2 separate regions of the Homo sapiens genome follow, and region 1 is linked to region 2. Evidence: promoter capture Hi-C in 16 types of primary human blood cells and fetal thymus (Javierre and others, 2016). All regions are on one chromosome and are shown on one strand. Each heading gives the region's core, a stretch centred on a gene start or on the middle of the fragment in contact. The rest is flanking DNA. Distances are from core to core; before and after follow the strand shown. Region 1 overlaps MLLT3 (MLLT3 super elongation complex subunit). Region 2 holds the start of CDKN2B-AS1 (CDKN2B and CDKN2A antisense cis and trans regulatory RNA 1).

What was found. The method cuts DNA at HindIII sites, captures the fragments that hold promoters and counts their contacts. A CHiCAGO score of 5 or more calls a contact.
Region 1: a contact is called between a fragment that was not itself captured here and the fragment with the promoter of CDKN2B-AS1 in region 2, in 1 of 17 cell types (total B cells). The highest score is 5.0, in total B cells.

The regions. Positions count from the first base shown.
Region 1 is chr9:20,615,285-20,619,443 of GRCh38, reverse strand. All of the region lies in intron 2 of MLLT3 (MLLT3 super elongation complex subunit), which reads left to right. Among named protein-coding and RNA genes, the nearest start is that of MLLT3, 5.1 kb to the left of the region's middle. The HindIII fragment of the contact is 1,595 bases long and covers 489-2,083 here.
Region 2 is chr9:21,991,978-21,996,040 of GRCh38, reverse strand. CDKN2B-AS1 (CDKN2B and CDKN2A antisense cis and trans regulatory RNA 1) reads right to left here and starts at 1,250. Exons shown (of 19, transcript NR_003529.4): 1 at 880-1,250. It overlaps LOC124902130 (a long non-coding RNA gene), which reads left to right and starts at 2,013. Exons shown (of 2, transcript XR_007061436.1): 1 at 2,013-2,155; 2 at 3,561-4,063. It also overlaps a transcript of CDKN2A not described here. RefSeq lists silencers at 797-996, 1,317-1,576. The HindIII fragment of the contact is 17,311 bases long and covers 1-4,063 here.

The DNA of each region.
Region 1 (4,159 bases), core at 37-2,536, 1.4 Mb after region 2:
GAAGCGTCGTGTGCCTTAGAGGTGGCAGAGGTTTGTATTGGTGCTTAGTTTTGTTTCCAGAGCTCATGTAATGGGAAGTAGGATTGTATTTTTTGCCTTTAGTGGTTTGGTTTATAACTCCTCCTGAAAACTTGAACGGTTGAATTTGATGGTCTTTGTTGGATGGTTAATAAATAAATCCAGTTTCTTATAGAGGGCTAGAAATATGCATGGCCTATAGGAAATAACATTTGAAATTTGTTAGCATTTTATGTTAAAATATAGTCAGAGATTATTATATTTCATATTTCCTCCAAACTGTGGTAAGGATGAGCGATGTCAAATTTCTATCGCTGATGAGGTTGATATGCTGCTTCTCGGATTCTCTCTCTCCCTTTCCATGTGTCTGTAGAGCAGAGGAGTTTAAACAAAAGAAACCACTTTCTAAGATCCTTGGTACACATTATTACTACTACTTGGCTGCAGTTCACTTCAAGGTGAAATAAGCTTTTAAAAAGCAACATTTATTAGGAAAATTAACTCAGTTGGCAGAAGATGTAGCTCTTAAGGTAACTTTGTTTAGGCACCTTGACAATCAACAAATTGGCATTATGAAATTAAAGATGATCAACCTCTATTTTACCATTGTTTTTCTGCTTCAGTGGATGTGTGCATTGATGTTATTTTTATTTCCTATACTTAATGATTTTCTGTCTGCCCTGAGGGAACATGAGGGTGCTGCTCACATAGGCCACACCTGGGAGTTGTTGCTAGGCGTGGTAAGCTGCTTGATAGCAGTGATGACTTCTCAGAGGTCTCTGGTGAGAGATGTCTGCTTGTTGGTTGGATTCCTCAATTTTTATACTCAACTGTGGAGGTTCTCTATGCAGTCTATAAGCCATTGTTTTAAAATGTTTATTTTTGGATTTTTATTTGTATGCGTGCTTCCCATGATGTGACAAGTCCTGGGAAAAGTGCCAGCTTACATCACCCAGGAGAGACCTTGTCATACTGTAATTACACATGATTCAGATTGCAAGAGAAGGTTTCTCTGTTCATTGGGAATAGTTGTAAGTTCAAGCAACACCAAACATGCCACTTAATCCTGGGACTTATTTTTTGGCTTATAAAGTCTTTCAAAATGATAAGAATAAATATAGAATAAGAATGCCAAGAATTTGTATGTCTACTTCCAGTACCTTTTAAAGTGTTATGTTAGCTATATTGTAGATCTATAAGTGATAGAGTAAAATTCTACCAATTGGAAATTGGAGAAACTGAAAATATGAATTTGTGAGAAATCTGAGTTATAAGATCTTTAAAAGAAATGCTCATATTCTATAATAAATAAGCTGTGTTGGCTATAGTGACAATCTAAATCACTTTCACTGTATACAGTAGCTGCTAAACAGAGATGAGCCTTAGGACTGAGGATGAACTGCTCAGCCACAAAGATGAAAGAGTCCTTAGTTTTGTAAATCTTTGGTTTGGAAAAGTGAATTGATTTTCAGGTTGATTTCCTTTACTTCACAGTAATATTAGAATTTGTAGGAGAAAAAATTATAGTATTTTTAACTTGTTGCTTAATGAGAATTATGTATACCATTTCAGAATTGAGCTAATTGGATTTGAATTAATGAGGTTTTACTCTGTCACAAAGATGGGTGGGAGACCTTCAATTTAAAACTAATGGCACAAAATCTTAGAAAAGAGATTTTGATGAAATGGTGAAGCCTGGAATGTCTATTAGCCATGACAAAACAGGTAGGTCAGAGTATGATGCATTTTTAAACTATTTACCTGCAAAAAAAGACAATATCTTATTTATTAGTACCAAAGATTTGTACTAGTCTGATATGACTGAAATGAATAGTCACATTCAAAACATTTCTTTTAAAATATTAATGTTTTTGTTTTTAGTATGATGTGAATTTGAGTGAACTTTTTTTCCAGTTACAGCCATCCTTACTATTGCAATTTGTTTCACTGACATTTATGATATGAAATCTGTTGCTTATTATTTTATGGAAGCTAATTTGGCCACTGGTAGGATTTGATAGCTTTTTATTTGTAGCCTTAGTCCTTTGAGTGGGCAGATAAAGCTTAATAAATCCACTCTAACAATTTTCCTTTAAGTGTATGAGGCCAGCTTTACTGCATAGTTTTGATTTGTGTTAAATGGTCTTCTGAAATAATTTGGGTAAGTTTTTATCAAGGTAACTAATACTTGAGGGCTTACTAGCTGAAGACGTTGTGTGCATCTGGTATATTTTCTCTTCAGAGTCATTTAAAAGATATAAGGAACAAAATGAAGATGAGTGACTGTTCTGATAGATTCAGCGAGTGTTATTTGTGTAGGGTTCTGTATGAAATTTAGATGACCAGTGAGAACAGTTTTACTGCTGTGCATTTTGAAGCACATAAAGTATAATTTTCCAAGGCACTTAAAAGCTGAATTGTTGGTGGAAATCTCATATTCTGTGGGTGAGAATGTAAATCGGGCAGGGGTATTTTGGAGAACATTGGCAAGGTCTATTAAGATTTTTAATGTTTATACTGTTTAGCCTAGCAAATTTACTTCTAGGAATTTTCTGACAAATATGTTCTCACAAGTACACAAAGATACAGCATGTTTCTTGTGACTGTTTTTGTAATAGTCAAAATTTGGAAGAAAGCCATATAGGGGCCCTCAACTGGATACAATTAAATGATGATAATCTATAAAAAGAGGTATATCTATTTGTAGATGCAGGAAGATCTTCAAGAATAATTAAGTGAAATAAGGCAAGTTGCTAAATCATTGTGATCTCATTTTTTCAAAAAAGTGCTTGTGCAGATAAGTATACGTATGTCTATACAAGTGTATGTCTGTAAATAAGTAAATTTGCATTAGCGGGCATCAAACTCTTACTAGTAGTTTAGTAGCTACTTGTGGTGGTGATGGGAGGTTATTTTTGTAGTGTTTGATTTTTTTTTAAAGTTAACTCCGTATATTTAAAACATTCAATGAGCACACATAACTTTTTAAAACTGAAAAAGAATAAAAAACCAATATAGAATATTGTTTTAAAAATAGGGATTAGCATGTAGCTATCTAAAAGTTAAAGATCTAAAAGTGATCTTTAATATCTTGGGTAGATATTGTTGCTTAAAGATGGAGAGAATTTAGGGTTAGGAATTACAGACTTGTATTCAAATGTTGGTTTAAGAGACTCCTTGTATGGTTTTGGACAAGTTACTTCTGTGTCTCTTTTCTCATTTGCATTATGGAAATGATGATAAAATAGAACTATTACCTCATAAGTTGAGGTTGAAATGTAAATCAACTGTTTTCATACTTATTGGGCTTAAGATCCTTTTACACTTACAAATTGAAGAACGCATAGAGTTTTTTTGTGTAAGTTATATCTATTAATTTTAGTGTATTAGAAATTAAAATGGAGACATTTTAAAGAAATTAATTTGTCTAAAGGTAGTAACCTATTATATGTTAACATACAGGTAACATTTTAATGAAAAATGAACATTTTCTTAAAAACAGTGACAAGAGGGGCATTGTTTACTTTTCTTTTCTTTTTTTTTTTTTTTTTCAAATCTCTTTGTTTTAATAGAAGACAACTAGGTCCTCTTACCAGCTTCTCTTTTCAGTCTATTGTGTTATCACATGTCCTGTAGCCTCTGGAAAACTCTGCTACACACTCACGAGAGAATGGGAAGGAAAAAGGCACATAACTTAATAGATTTTATTATATATATAGATTTAACGTCACCAATCACCTGAAAAGATCATAGGGATCCTGAGATCCTAACTCTACACTCCGAGAACTGCTGGTAGAAAGTATTCAGCCTACAATCTGGCACACATAAATTGCCCAATACATGGAAGCTGATTGTTATTATTGTTGCTAATAAAAACTTATTTAATGGAAAGAGAAAAGGTAAATCTTCCAAGGTATTTGCCTCATTAAATTCCGGTGAATGATTACCTAACAAAATTGTTTTCAGAAAAGGATAATTTAAACTTGGGTTTTTCTGGGCATATTTTATAGCTACTATTACTATCCATTCTTTTTTTTTTTTTTTTTTTTTTTTTTTTTTTTTTTTCACATGGTCTGGCCCTGTCACCCAGGCTGGGTTGTAATTGCGTGATTTCAGCTCATTGCAACCTCCATCTCCTGGA
Region 2 (4,063 bases), core at 1-2,500:
CCACTTCTTCAACTAGGCCACTAGGCCCAAGCGCATGAACAGGAAGCCACTGAGAAGCGGGCCACATTTCCAGGTTCCCGGAGCTGGGCCTAGTCCCGAATCCTCTGGCACACACCCACCCACTCAGGCCGCGGGTCCAGCCCGCGAGGTTTAGGACGGATCCAGGCAGACCGCAGGCTCCGGGTCGGGGCACCGGGTCAGCGCGCCGGCCTGAAGGCGGCGTCCTGGGCTCGACTTCCCGCGCGCGGAGAGCCGGCGAGCCCGCGTCCGAGTTCCTGGACGAGAGCCGAGCCTCGCTTAGACCGCGCTCAGGACCCGGCTCCTCCGCATTCTCCGGCTGCCCCTGTGTCCTCGACTCACCCCTCCTTTCTGCCGCTCCTTCCTTTCCTTGCCCTGCTTTTACTGTTCCCAAACAGGACCGCTTTTCCTGTCTCCCAGCTGGAAAGGAGGAAGGGAGAGAGTCCAGAAAGGATCGGTGATGTGGAAGAAAAGGGGAGGAGGGGACATGGAGGGGGAGACCGGAGAGAGAACGTACGCCGAGGAGTCAGGCGGCGGGATCAAGGGGAGTCGGGGTGTCTGGGCGCGGGGCAGAGCGTGGAGGCGGCAGCGGCCAACGGTCGCCAAGACAACCATTCTACGCGAGGACGCGGCGACAGGAGGGGAGCGGCCAGCAGGGGAGGGGAGCGCGGGGGAAGAGGAAAGAGGAAGAAGCGCTCAGATGCTCCGCGGCTGTCGTGAAGGTTAAAACCGAAAATAAAAATGGGCTAGACACAAAGGACTCGGTGCTTGTCCCAGCCAGGCGCCCTCGGCGACGCGGGCAGCTGGGAGGGGAATGGGCGCCCGGACCCAGCTGGGACCCCCGGGTGCGACTCCACCTACCTAGTCCGGCGCCAGGCCGGGTCGACAGCTCCGGCAGCGCCAGCGCCGCGCCGTGTCCAGATGTCGCGTCAGAGGCGTGCAGCGGTTTAGTTTAATTTCGCTTGTTTTCCAAATCTAGAAGAGGAGCGGAGCGGCTTTTAGTTCAAAACTGACATTCAGCCTCCTGATTGGCGGATAGAGCAATGAGATGACCTCGCTTTCCTTTCTTCCTTTTTCATTTTTAAATAATCTAGTTTGAAGAATGGAAGACTTTCGACGAGGGGAGCCAGGAATAAAATAAGGGGAATAGGGGAGCGGGGACGCGAGCAGCACCAGAATCCGCGGGAGCGCGGCTGTTCCTGGTAGGGCCGTGTCAGGTGACGGATGTAGCTAGGGGGCGAGCTGCCTGGAGTTGCGTTCCAGGCGTCCGGCCCCTGGGCCGTCACCGCGGGGCGCCCGCGCTGAGGGTGGGAAGATGGTGGTGGGGGTGGGGGCGCACACAGGGCGGGAAAGTGGCGGTAGGCGGGAGGGAGAGGAACGCGGGCCCTGAGCCGCCCGCGCGCGCGCCTCCCTACGGGCGCCTCCGGCAGCCCTTCCCGCGTGCGCAGGGCTCAGAGCCGTTCCGAGATCTTGGAGGTCCGGGTGGGAGTGGGGGTGGGGTGGGGGTGGGGGTGAAGGTGGGGGGCGGGCGCGCTCAGGGAAGGCGGGTGCGCGCCTGCGGGGCGGAGATGGGCAGGGGGCGGTGCGTGGGTCCCAGTCTGCAGTTAAGGGGGCAGGAGTGGCGCTGCTCACCTCTGGTGCCAAAGGGCGGCGCAGCGGCTGCCGAGCTCGGCCCTGGAGGCGGCGAGAACATGGTGCGCAGGTTCTTGGTGACCCTCCGGATTCGGCGCGCGTGCGGCCCGCCGCGAGTGAGGGTTTTCGTGGTTCACATCCCGCGGCTCACGGGGGAGTGGGCAGCGCCAGGGGCGCCCGCCGCTGTGGCCCTCGTGCTGATGCTACTGAGGAGCCAGCGTCTAGGGCAGCAGCCGCTTCCTAGAAGACCAGGTAGGAAAGGCCCTCGAAAAGTCCGGGGCGCATTCGGCACTTGTTTTGTTTGGTGTGATTTCGTAAACAGATAATTCGTCTCTAGCCCAGGCTAGGAGGAGGAGGAGATAACCGCCGGTGGAGGCTTCCCCATTCGGGTTACAACGACTTAGACATGTGGTTCTCGCAGTACCATTGAACCTGGACCTCCCTTCACACAGCCCCTCAATCGTGGGAAACTGAGGCGAACAGAGCTTCTAAACCCACCTCAGAAGTCAGTGAGTCCCGAATATCCTGGGTGGGAATGACTAAGACACACACACACACACACACACACACACACACACACACACACACACAGTAGGAAAGGTGTATTTCAAGCACACTTTCTTTCTCCTTGGGGAGAATTATTGCTAACCATCTAAGTTTTCTGGAGGCGGCCTTTTTTCTCCCCAGCCTCCCGGCGGGGTCACCCTCTCCCACCTTCCAGGAGAGTGGAGGACCCGTGAGATACGGGGCACGCAGGCAGCGACTTCCTGAAATGCTAACAAGGATCGTAGGATCAGTTACTGCTGCGAGGAGCAAGCACTTGCTTCTTGGGGGAGTTTTGCAGCCAACAGGGAAATGGGCTTTCTTTGTGAGTTAGAGGTAGAGGTCCGGCGGCCTGAGTGATTGAAACTGCTCGGGACAATGCTCGTATGTTTAGCAAACGACAGAACTGTAGAACTGTTCCTGAGAAATCCCAACTGATAGTATTTTAGTCATCTCAGACGACAGTTAGCACAGTTTAAAAATGAGGCCTACTTCTTGAAAAACAGAATCCAAGGTAGTTTTGTCCTCACATTGACAAATGTTGACACAGCCAGTGTAATTTCCTATAACCAGGAAAACTGAAAGAATATATGTACAGTTAAAATATGTACAATGCTAATTAAAACTTGTGTAATAAGTCTAAAAGTAATTTAATGAGGCTTCACTTTTATGACCGTCCTTGTGGTATGCTTCGCCAGGAATATATAGCTTCAAAAAGCAAAGGCCAGCGGAGGGGTAATTATTTTTTTACTGCAATGTTAATTGTCTCTTTGACATGGAAATATAAACCTGTTAAAACTATCAGTGTTTAATTTAGTGTCTCAATTTCTATTAGCAAAAATTTATAATCTATAGGATAAATGCACATTTTATTTTTTACTTTTCATATTATGCAAGTTAATTTTTTTAATTTAGTCAAAGGAGCTTATAAAGGATTTCAGGGCCTGTTGCTGGATTTGATTTTAATTCATTTTGAAACATTGACAAGACCCTGGTTGTTGTTTTTTTTAACAGTGGTTTATCCGTATCAGCAAAAGTTTAGCCACTGTGACCGGTAACTGTATGAATATAGTTCTTAATATTATTGTCTATATAAAAATATTTATTACTCTAGTTAATATTATTCTATATAAAATCATTTTGTTTAAATTATTAAGTTGCCTCTGAAAATCTGTAGTAACAAAGTAGAACATGTCAATGTATATAAATGCCATAATTATGTATTTTTTAGTTTAGGCCTATAAAACATAACATTGTGGTGATTTTAAGTTAGAGAAAATATTTTATAGTATGTTAATGTATATGCATGAAATGCAAAAATATTTAAATGATAGGTTCATTGAAATAGATCATTTTTTGTTATTTAGGTATAAATCAATTTTCAGGACGTATGTGAAAAGCGCAATCTTCAGGAAGTTTCTCAAGATAGAACACAGCTTGGATAGAATGTCTTGAAATATATGCAATTTTCCAATTTCATATGTAAAATGATATACATAATATAAAATCTAGCGGTGTTAATTATAATGATATGTAATTATATATTTCACATTAATATATTTTATGCCCATGGCTATATTGATTTGGGAATATATATGGATACTAATTATGTTAGGATTCATACAATTCCTTGAGAGGCACAAGTGCTAAAAATTACTTGTATGAATTATTTAATATCATTGCAAATAAGATGTTATTTTAACTTTTTTTAAGTTTCTGCAAATATGTTTATTATGACTTTTTATTTTTATATGATTGGAAATACATATACTAAAATTCCACGTTACCAGTTTCTTAACCACAGAAACCTGAAAAATTGCCATAGTTGATTTGTTACTTCTACCTTGGTGCATTTACAAAATAGTCATAT